Regions from separate parts of the Homo sapiens genome. Here region 1 is linked to region 2. The links are contacts of gene promoters, found by promoter capture Hi-C in blood cells and fetal thymus (Javierre and others, 2016). All regions are on one chromosome and are shown on one strand. The core of a region is centred on a gene start or on the middle of the fragment in contact, and the rest is flanking DNA. Distances in the headings are between cores, read along the strand shown.

Region 1 (5,896 bases), core at 678-3,177, 780 kb after region 2:
GTCAAGGTTCTCTGTCTTCCCCATGTGACAGGAGCAATAATCCTCCAATTGGGCCAACACAGCCTTTTATAAGTTAACTGTTACTCTATCACACCTTGCATTACTGCAGAAATTCCAAAATTGTAACTTTTCCTGGATACATTATGGAAAAAAAAAAAAAGAATAAAAGCCAGGTATGACTCAAAAAAGTTAATCAAGTATATCTGGGTCCAGGTGGTAAAGCCTTGGGTGATAATGGCCAAAGTCAGCATTACAATGGGTTGGCTGGTGGGAAGGGTCCTTCAGAAGGGTAGAATCCCAAGGAAGACACTCTGATTTTCAGATGCTTAGCCCTGCTAAGAAAGAAACCAGGATGATATATTTGCTTGTCCTGTTCTGACGCAGAACCATTCTTTTTCTGCTTTCTCCTTAGTGTTGAAATAATAAGATTGGGCAACAGTTTATATATCAACTGGGATCGGAAGATGTTTTATGCACCAAGGAACACACCAGCACAGGCTCGTACTACCACCCTTACTGAGGAGCTCGGCCAAGTCAAATATGTGTTCTCTGACAAAACAGGGACTCTGACTCAGAACATTATGATTTTCAACAAATGTTCTATTAATGGGAAGCTCTATGATATGCATGTCTTCCTGCTTTCCCCAAGTCCTGGGAAATTTTTACTTTGCAAATTGTTTTCAAGACTAATCTAGCTCTAAATCTGTAAGCCTCTGGAATTCACATTTATCTCCTATTCTCACAACTGTCTCTATTCTCTAAGCAAAGACCACCCAGCCCAAACAGTTCTAACCAAAAAGCATTTATTTAGCATCTTATAGGTACAATCTATTGTGTTGGGCATTGAGAATACCGAGATGTGCAAGACTTAGTCTCTGTCCTCAAGGAGTCCCCAATGTCTATGTACTCAGTTCACTCCCACTTTAAATCAGATGGATGTTGGTCAAAGGGTACAAAGTTTCAGTTAGGCAGGAGGAATAAGTCTTCAAGATCCATTGCACAGCATGTTGATCCTAGTTAATAATAATGTATTGCATATTTCAAAATTACTAAAAGAGTTTTAAATGTTCTCACTACAAAAAAATAAGTATGCAAGGTGATAAATATGTTAGTTAGCTTGATATAATCATTCCATGGTGTATACATATATGAAAACATCACATTGTATCCATAAATATATACAATTAGTATTTGTCAATTAATAATAAAATTAAAAATAAATTAAATGGAGCAGTCAATGTATTACTGAAGCTGCTAATTTCTTGATTCCCCTTTACAGCAATAAATATTATTGAGAGAAACCATCAAAGGGTAGTCAGAGTTTGATCAGTGTCTCCCAGGCCCAATCCCTTATTTATCTTATGCCTTAAGCATAAGCTTGTTTTTGTGATAGAGTTAAGTCCTCATGTGTGTGAACAGTCATACCCAGTGTCCTAGCTAACAGAGGAAGGTAATCACATCTAAAAAACTAGAACACATGGAATAATCTTTCTGGGGTGACGAAAAAGTTTAGAAACTTGAGAGAGGTGGTAGTTGCACATTGTAAATGCACTAAATGCCTCTAAATTGTACACATTAAAATGGATAATTATATGTTAACTAAGTAAATTTCATATCAATAAGTAATTGAAATTTTTTAATTAAAAAAAGCTAGGCCGGGTGCGTTGGCTCACGCCTGTAATTTCAATACTTTGGGAGTCTGAGGCAGGCGGATCACCTGAGGTCAGAAGCTCGAGACGAGCCTGGCCAACATGGTGAAACCCCATCTCAACAAAAAATACAAAAATATTAGCCAGGCATGGTGGCACATGCCTGTAATCCCAGCTACTTGGGAGGCTGAGGTGGGAGAATTTCTTAAACCCGGGAGGTGGAAGTTGCAGTGAGCCAAGATCATGCCACTGCACTCCAGCCTGGGTGACAAGAGTGAAACTCCTGTCTAAAAAAAAAAAAAAAAAAGACTAGAGCACTCTAATATTTCCTATTATTTCCTATATTTCCTATTATTTGTTTGGTAACCATGTCAAACAAATTTTCACTTATATAAACTCTGAAGGCTTATTTTTGGATGAGCTGATTTGGGTGAGCCTCTTAATTCTCTGACCTGACCATATACTGGGTAAAGTTGAAAAGGACCATGAGTGTTTCCATGCTTGGCATCAGACATGTCTTCTACCCCTATTCAGTCTGTCATCCACTGGTCAAGAATCCCAAACATTCTAAAACTGTGTCCACATCTCTTCTGGGTAACTCTTATGATTGGAGGGCTTCCTGAGGTGTGAAGTCTATCACAGATCCAGTGACTAACTTCTAGCTTCATCTTATTCTCACTTAGGGGAGAAGAGTTGAGGCCCAAGCAAACCTCTTCTTACCATTGGCTTAGGGAAAGGAGCTTACTGGGAACTGGGAGCTAGGTGGCCTGAGGAGACTGGGGGGCAGGCATCTTGACTGCAAGTCTAGGATGAAGGAATCAGAATAAATAAGCTTTTAAGGCCCCTCCTTTAAATCACCATATGACCCAGCAATTTGATTCCTAGGTATATACCCCCAAAACTTGAAAACAAGAACTCGGATACATGTATACCAACGTTCATTGTGACATTATTCGCATAAGTCCAGAGATAGAAATAACCCACATGTCCATCCACAGATGAATGGATAAAGAAACTGTGGTATAGCATATACATACAATGGAATGTGAATCATCCATAAAAAGTAATGAAATTTGATACATGCTACAACATGGATGAACCTTGAAAGCATTATGCTAAGTGATGTAAGCTAAACACAAAAAGACAAAAATTTTATGATTCTACTTATGTGAACTATCTAGAATAGGCAAATTCATAGAGACAAAAAATAGACTAGAGGTTACTAGGGGCTGGTGATGGGAAAAAATGGGAAGTTTCTGTTTGGGGTGCTGAAAAAATGTTGGAAATATATAGTGGTGATTGTTGCACAACATTGTGAATATAATTAATGTCATTGCATTTTACATTTAAAATAGTTAAAATGGCAAGTTTTATGTGATATATATGTATATTTTTTTAACAACAATTTAAAGAAATTCAAACCCTCCTTTAAAACCCTTGCCAAGTCTCTGCTGTGTTCACTTACCAACAGGTGATACTTATGACAAGGATGGACAGAGGGTGACGGTCTCTGAGGTGAGTGATTACAGCTCCATGGGAAATGCATGTGGGAGCTGAGTGAGGCTGTGCTTCAGAGAAGCATCCTTAATACAAATCGAGACTCCCTTAGCCACTGAAATATTAAAGCTTTTACTGGTCCTGTAATATCAGAAAGCATTATATAAATGACCTATGTTTAATTCTGAAGATCTTCGTTTGTTCTTTTTAAACAAAAATAGCTTTATTGGCTTTTTCTCTTTAAAAAATAATCCATGCTCACTGTAAAAAAAAAAATTAAATAATACAGAAATGTGTGAAGAAAGTTAAAATTATTCCATCCCATTTAGATAGCCAGTGTAAAGTTGGGGAGTATATCCTATGCTTTTCATATGTGTATACACACACACATATGTACATCTAGATCTAGAAGATGGGGGAGATAAAATCATAGTATGCATGCTATTTCCAGTTTCCTTTTGTTCACTTGACACTATTATTGTCGTCATCTTTCCATGTCGGTAGGTCTAGGTCTACATCATCATTTTGAATGGGTGTCCACTATTCAGTTGTATCACTGTACCTTAATTTATTTAATTTCTTATTTTTATTCCATTTTCCTTTGCGATTACAAATGACATTTTGGTAATCATTATGGAACATACATTTTGTCTACTTTTCTGATAATTATTTCTTTAGAATAAAGTCCTAGAAGTAAAATTCATTGGTCAAAAGGTAGCCACGTTTTAATACATTAAATAGTGCCACATTGCCCTCCAGGTAGATTCGCATAACTTTATAATCCCACCAAAAATATATGACATTTTGTTTTCCCCCATATGCTTGTCAGAACTGGTATTAACAATTTTTAATCTGTTGAAATTTAATTGATGAAAAATGGTATCTAATTATTTAATTTACCTTTTTTGATGACTAATTAGGTTGAATCATTTTTATGTGCTTATTTTTCTTCCCCTTATCATCTCTTTATTGCCCATTTACACTTACTTTGTGAACTGTCTATTCATATTCTTTGGCCTTTTTTTCTTATTTGAAAATGCTCTTTATACAGTAAAAATACTAGCTCTTCCTTTTTCTGGTGCATATGTTATAATTATTTTTCCCATTTTGTCTTTTGGTTTTTAATTTGTTAAATAATATTTTGTGTAGAAGTGTTTAATTCATGTAATCAAATCTATCAGTCATTTTCCTTTGTAACTTAAGGATTTGTGACATATTCAACAGGCTTTATAAAATTATAAAAATATCTTCCTATTCATTCTTCTTATCTCTAGTTGGTTTTTACTGTTTTCTCTAGTATTGGACCCAGCTTTTGTTTATGGATTTGTTTTTAAGTGTCCCTTCACAGGGGTTCTTCTGCTGCCTTCAGGGTATTCCTCACCTTATCTCTGTCTTGCTAGACCCAATTCCAAACTGAGCCACTTGACTTATGTACCAAACATCTGACTCCAGTTCTCAACTGTTGCCTTACCCCTGTCCATCCAAAGAGATTGGGAAGGGGAAGGAAATTCAGTGATTTGCCTTAAATCATCTTCCAGGGGCTTGGCTAATGACCTTGGCAATATAGGCAAAATTATAGCTTCTAGGGAGTAAATCCCTCCTGGAGTTTCTTTCCTCTCCTTCTGTCCACTACTGATTGACCGTAACACATTTTTCACTAAATCACTGGAATTTTTGTTCTCTTATAAACAAACTTACCTATAGCCTCAATCCCTTCATTAATTGAAACATGATTTTCCCTGAGAACATTCCTTTTTCTTCCATCTCTCTCATACTCTGCATACCATAAACTCTGGATACCATAAGCCCAAAGGTGTTGCCCTCATTATCCTGTGCCATGTTTAACCATTAGTTTTTCTCTCCTACACAATCTTTCTTCCTGTGATGCTTATGACTTCTGGCTATACTCATCTGTAACTCTTCTTGTTGTTGATATCTAGGAAGCTTCTGGCTTCTACACCCCATTCATTGAGGGCTTTGAAACTTCTCCCTCCCCTCCCAACCACTGCTATTGTTTTGGGTGGTATTGTCATCCTTATGGACGACCTATCACTGTAGACTCTTTCAGGTCTCTGAAAGAATCCTTCAGATGATCTCTTGGACAAAAAAAAAAAAAAATCTGTATCACCCATTTCCATGTTACCATGTAATTGTCCAGAGTTGTACTAATGTGGAATTATAAACTTTCTTTTCACAATCTTTGATCACAAACCTTATTCCTCCATATTCTCAGTACATGGCTCGTACTTGAGATTTTTAAAAGTATTCCTGCTTTTTTATCTCATGGAGATTTATAAACCCTTGGCTTTCTTTTTTCTCCAGTCTATCAATTCCTTATGACTTTACTTCCTTTCCTAGCTTGCCTGTCTGTACCCTGGGATCATAAGCATCCTCAGTACCTTACTAGTTCTCCTTTTCTTCTCTTTAATCACTGAACAAATCTCAACCTTGAATTAACCAAACCATCGACCCTGCTCTGTTTCTAATTTGAGAGTGTTAAGCACTATTTTGGAGATCATAAAACCATTACAAATTCAGAGACTCCACTGTCCTCTGTCCCAGTGCCACTTGGCAAATTTTTCACCATTTTGTAATTGGCTTCATATTTTATTCTCCGTATCAGCTTTTCTAAACAATCACCATTCTCAGACCTTCTACCACACTCTCCTGGCTCCCCAGTACGTAGCAAATGATACTGCCTTCTATTTTACTGAGAAAAATCCAAACTATCAGCTAAATATCCTCCTCTG
Region 2 (6,041 bases), core at 816-3,315:
TTAGACACCTGGATGCTTGAACACCTGCCTTGGAGAGCAAAGAGTGGGAGGCATGAGACGCTGGCTCATTCAGGGAACTGACCCAAGCTTAGTGTCGCTGAACTATGGAAAGCAATGAGGCTGATCCTGAGAGCATCAGGTTGTTAAGTGGAGGTGAGCAAGGAGACCCCCTAGGCCACAGAAGAGAAAATAGATCCTGCCATTCCACCTCCCCCTTCCTATTCCTGTCCACCTGGCTAGACAGCAAACGGACAGCAGACAGATCTATGGGTGCCAGGTGCCTTTTTTTTTTTTTTTAAGGCTAGTTAAGCAGTAGGAGTGGAGAAAGAACAAAGAAATCTGTAACAGGTTGTGATCAATTAGTTGTAAACACCAGGCGGCTTTATTGGTAGCATTGCAATCTGGGGGTGGAGCAGCTTTACTCTGACCACACTCACCCTCTCGCTCACACTCACACTCACACACACCCCAGGCCCTGTCCTGGCTGGTCAGGTCTGGTGCAGAGGAGCTGGAAGCCTGGTCCTTCCTTCTGGTCCTCGGTTCCCCAGGTTAGGTAATAATTCACAATGCTTGACTCGGACTCCGGGCTCCCTCTGCACGGTCATAGGTTAACTGCTGCGGCGCTTCATCTAGAGGAGGAAGGAGAGGAAGGATCATGGGCTGGAATCTTAGACAGGAGCTCAGAGGGAGGAGACAGGGCCAGGGAGGGCCAGGCTTGCCTTGGCTGAGGTCCTCTGCAGTCTCTGGATGATGCGTTCTACCCAGGGCTGGTCTGGGGGTGCACAGAGCTGGCGGCCCCTCAGTGTGGTGAACCTGGGGTGAGAGGCCGGAGAGAATGGAGCCCCAGAATCCAGCATGCCTGGGGACCATGTCTGGGAACCTGTTTCAGGGATTTCCTTGAAGGGGTTGGGCTTGGCATGGAGAAGGGGAATAAGAAGGTGGGAGTCTCAACAGGGGCTAAAACGGGAGATGAGGCTAGACACCCTCCCCACAACTCACACTACAGCAGGCACCCTGCAGCCATCCTTGATGAGAAGGTAGTGGAAGTTCCTCACGATGTACCCAGGGATGGGTTTCTGGGTCACAGACAGGCAGCAGTCTTCAGCATCATTGGTGCCACTCAGAGTTGGGGCTGGGATGGGGAAAGAAGGTGACAGGACACAGGGACCCTTGAGGGTGGCATGGCCATGGCCCTAGCTCGGATTGAGGACACCTGTGTGTGTGTGTGTGTGTGTGTGTGTGTGTGTGTGTGTGTGTGTCTGGTGGGGTCGGGGAGGAGTTAGACCTGGTATTCAGCCATTATGCACCAATATGGCTCTGGCTCTACTGGTTGCTAAATATATTGTCATACTTCTAAACTGTTTTGTAAATAACCACTGCCCTGAGCCCCACAAATGACTTCCTGCTGCCCTGATCACCCCAACCTCTCTCCCAGGACAATCCAGCAAGTAAAGAGTTAATGCAGGTCACAGTGTGGGAGGGGCGTGGGGTAGGGTAGGCTGGTGTTAGGAGCCTTATTAATTGCTAAAATTTTTGAATATCAGCCTTGGCTTAGTGTCTGCCATTCTCCCTACCTTAAGCAAATCTCCTTCTGCCTGGGAAACGGAGGCAGCAGGAAATAGAGCTTGCAGAGACAGTCACAGCCATAGGCCCCAGGATGTGCTAAAAGACACACCCGCATTGGGATTCAGGGGCACAGGGACACCCACACTTACAGGCACACATGCAGGGACCTGCCAGGCTCACCGAAATATACAGACCTAAGCATTTGCCTGAACTCACCATGTCCCTTACGTCCAGTGCCAAGCAATCTGAGATCTAGACATTACCCACTGCCAGCCCCCCACTGCCTCTGACCCTGACTCTCCCTTCAGCCTTACCTGGGGAAGTCCAGAGAACCAGCAGGCTGAGGGCCAGTAGCAGGGCCATGGAGGGTGAACAGAGGCAGGCCAACGGTGAATGTGTGAGCGCCAGCTGTCTGGGTGTGTGCAGGATCTGTGTGAGGCTGCAGGGCGACTGGGATGCAGGGGTGAAATGCAAGGTGTGAGTGATGTGAGGCTGGGAATGTGAGCCCTGCAGCTGACTCCTATTTATGGCCAGAGCTTCACTTTCTCTGCCTGAAATTCCCCTTCATGTCCCATTCTGTGATTCCCCTGTTGCCCCCCTCTTTCTGGCAGAATCGCACCCTGCCCCCCTTCTTCCCCCTGCGGTTGCCCTTTCCTTCTGCTTTCCTTGGCTCCTGCTCTGAGAACTTAAGTCTGCAGTCTGGCCCAGTAAAGGGGGCTGTGCACTGTTTCTCCAGAGAGAGGGATTGCCCTGTCATCCCATTGATGGCATTTGCATCATCAACCATGAAGCTGGGGTTCAGAAGTGATGGTCAAAGGTGGGGCCCACAGTGAGGAACTGTGCTCCCTTCCTTAGGTTTATCCCTTGTCCTCACTGGTGCTTCTTTCTTGGGCTGGTGGTGAAGAAGGCTCCCTGGCACCCTCAGGACAACCATGAGATCCTGGGGTGGCCTCCAAGGTCATCACTGTGCCTGCCCACTATGTGGGAACCAGTCCTTCCCTTGGGGCAAGCAGAGCTGAAAGGCCAGGTACCTTGGGAGGAGGCCCAGGACCCCCATCCCACATCTCAGGCCTCTGGGGCTCAGCAAACCCTCCCCTTCCTCTATTTACTGTTTTCCTATGTCCAACACCTGGGTCAAAGGAACAGCTGGAGGGAGACTGGCTTGGAATAGCCCCCTTCATTTTCCCCCTTTTCTCAGTCCTGGGAACCAAGAGGGGATTTCTAAGGAGAGGGGCTGGCCAGCTCATATTCAGACAAATCTTAAAATTTCAAGGAATCGGCCGATGGGGGAGGGGACAAGTGACTTCCCATCCTTATGAGAAAGGTCAGAAGAGAAGGCCTTGAAAGAGAAACTAAATGTGAAACGCCCAGTCACCCGTCGTCACCCAAACCCTAGACCCTCTTTTGGATGGAGAGAGGGAGGGGGAACATTTCCCTCTTAAATTTCTGACTTAGCTTCTTTCCATTCATTAATCATAATAATAGTAATGGTATTTTTGATTGTTTACTATGTGCTAGGCTCTATGTCAAGGACTTTACCACTATTACCTTGCTTAACTTTCCCAAAACAATACCATTGATGTAGTTTTTCTTATTTTCACATTATTATTCTTATTTTACACATAAGGAACATGAGGCTCAGAGCACAAAGCCACACAGCTAGTAAGTACTGGAGCATGATTTGGACCCAGGTGTGCTCTAGGGTTTGCAGTCTTTACCTCCACTCCACACCGCCTGTCTGCCACTTGGTCATGGCACAGCACGGGTAGTCACGGTGCAGAGGAGGGAGACTCTGCAGACAGAGCGCCTAGCTTGGGATTCAGATTCCACCACTTACTAACTGCGACAAGGTGAAAATTCTCCAGTTTCTGTGTCTTAGTGTCCTTATTTGTAAAATGGGAATGGTAGAAGATCTACTTCTTAGGATTAAGTGAGGAACCCTGAGTAAAGCCCTTAGCTTAGAGGCTGACGCACAATAAGCTCTGTTAGCCATTGTTCTTCTTTTGTCCTTTTTTTTTTTTTTTTTTTGAGACAGAGTCTCACTCTGTCACCCAGGCTGGAGTACAATGGCACGATCTTGGCTCAGAGCAACCTCCACCTCCTGGGCTCAAGGGATTCTCCTGCCTCAGCCTCCTGAGTAGCTGGGATTACAGGCACCCACCATCATGCCCGGCTAAATTTGGTATTTTTAGTAGAGGTGAGGTTTCACCTTGTTGGCTAGGCTGGTTTCGAACTCCTGGTTTCGAACTCCTGACTTCAAATGATCTGCTTGCCTCCGCTTCCCAAAGTGTTGGGATTACAGGCGTGAGCCACCGTGCCTGGCCTTCTATCCTTTTATTCAGGTATCTGTTCATTAATTCATCCATCCACCCCTCTTTCCATTGATCTATCCATTCTTCTGTCCATGATGGTTCTGGTTATTCTGTTTGCCCCAGCCTATCCATTCTCCACTCTTCACGGCCCTGCTCTGCTCCCTGGAAGGCTGACCTCTGCAGATAGCATTACTTAGGGTCACCTGCTTTCTGGCTTCTGTTTGGGGCTGGCCCATGGGAAGCAGCAACTGATCAGTGGTGGAAGGAGAGAGGGGTATTAATTCCCCAAATCCTTCATCTTGCTGCAGTTCTGGCAGTGAATAATTTCCCCTGTGGCAGTTGTTCTCAAAGAGTAGCCTTTGGGCAGCAGCAGCAGCATCACTTGGGAGCTTGTTAGAAACACGAATTCTTAGATTTTACTTCCCACTTACCACATCTGAGACTCTGAGGATGGGGTCCAGCAAACTGCATTTTCACATACCCTCCAAGTGACTCTGATATGTGCTAAAGTTTGAGATCCAAACGAGCCTCAGGGATACCATCAAATATACCTCATCACAGGAGTCTCAGGAGGAGAATAGAGAGAACAGGGCATTAAAAAAATTGAAGAAATAATGACAAAACATCTGAAATCTGATGAAAAGTATGTATATACATATCCAAGAAGTTCATTACGCCTGGCCTGCTATGTTGTTATGTTTATCAGAGATCTTTGTTTCTTTGTGTGGCTGTAAGTTATTACTTTTTGTCCTTTTGTTTCATTCTGAAGGTCTCCCTTTAGCATTTCTTTGTTTGTTTTTTGTTTTTTCTTTCTCCCTTTAGCTTTTCTTATGGGCAGATGTACTATTAATGAACTTCCTAAGTTTTGTTTATCCAGAACAGGAGTTTGAGACAAGCCTGGCCAACATGGTGAAACCCCATCTCAACTCCTGACTACTCAGCTACTCAGGAGGCTGAGGCAGGAGAATCCCAAGGCTCACCTTGGCCTCCCAAAGTGGTCTACAGATTGAGGCCCACTGATCTACAGTGATCCTTTTGGGTTGCCTCCCTTCCACGGGTCTATCTCTATTCTTTTTTTTTTTTTTTTTTTTTTTTTTTTGATACAGAGTCTCAATATGTCACCCAGGCTCTAGTGCAGTGGCACAGTCTCAGCTAACTGCAGCCTCTGCCTCCTATGTTCAAGTAATTCTCTTGCCTCAGCCACCCGAGTAGCTGGGATTAGAGGCACGCACCACCACGCTTGGCTAATTTTTTTTTTTGAGATGGAGTTTCACCCTTGTCACCCAGGCTGGAGTGCAATGGCACAATCTCAGCTCACTGCAACCTCCGCCTCCTGGGTTCAAGCGATTCTGCTGCCTCAGCCTCCTGAGTAGCTGGGATTACAGGGACCCGCCACCACACCCAGCTAAGTTTTTTGTATTTTTAGTAGAGATGGGGTTTCATCATGTTGGCCAGGCTGGTCTTGAACTCCTGACCTCAGGTGATCCACCTGCTTTGGCCTCCCAAAGTGCAGGGATTACAGGCGTGAGCCACCATGCCCGGCCTAATTTTTGTACTTTTAATACAGATGAGATTTCACCATGTTGGCCAGTCTGGTCTCAAATTCCTGACCTCAGGTGATCCACCCGCCTCGGCCTCCCAAAGTGCTGGGATGACAGGCTTTGGAAACACTGTTCCCTCCTCTTGCCCCTTCAAGCCTTTGTATGATAATGGTTTCTCACCATTGCTAGACCCCAACTGCCTATCATCCCATGTTAGTTCCTTAATCCTGACCTAATCTCTTAAATTGTCCCTTTATTAAAATCTTTCCAGTTAAATTTTTTTTGAGTGTATGTGATATTGTGAAATATATATCTGGTCTTCATCTTCCTTTTCTGACATATAGCTCCTAAAATCCTTGGAATCTTGGGAGAGATTGTGTCTTTTGTATGCTAATGAGATAACTGGTGGCTGGGGGCCTCTAGACAGCCTCTGGATGGGAGCTAGTCAGCAGAAGAACCAGCCACATGGTTAGAGAGTTGGAACATTCTCTAACATTCTGTAGTGGTGGGGAGTCCCACCCACTCCCCACCTCTGGGTAGGGGAAGAGGGGTTGAAACTTGAGTTGATAAACCAATGGCTGATGATGTAATCAATTATACCTAGGTACTGATACTTCCATTA

What was found. Contacts are between HindIII fragments. The CHiCAGO score rates a contact against its expected background, and 5 or more counts as called.
Region 1: a contact is called between a fragment that was not itself captured here and the fragment with the promoter of CCL19 in region 2, in 3 of 17 cell types (M2 macrophages, M0 macrophages and naive B cells). The highest score is 6.6, in M2 macrophages.

What each region holds. Positions count from the first base shown.
Region 1 is chr9:35,470,608-35,476,503 of GRCh38, forward strand. It overlaps the pseudogene ATP8B5P. Among named protein-coding and RNA genes, the nearest start is that of RUSC2, 17 kb to the right of the region's middle. The HindIII fragment of the contact is 1,104 bases long and covers 1,376-2,479 here.
Region 2 is chr9:34,689,211-34,695,251 of GRCh38, forward strand. It overlaps CCL19 (C-C motif chemokine ligand 19), which reads right to left and starts at 2,066. Exons shown (of 4, transcript NM_006274.3): 1 at 1,881-2,066; 2 at 1,000-1,132; 3 at 720-813; 4 at 360-629. The coding sequence starts at 1,929. The coding sequence ends at 609. It also overlaps a transcript of PHF24 not described here. The HindIII fragment of the contact is 13,722 bases long and covers 86-6,041 here.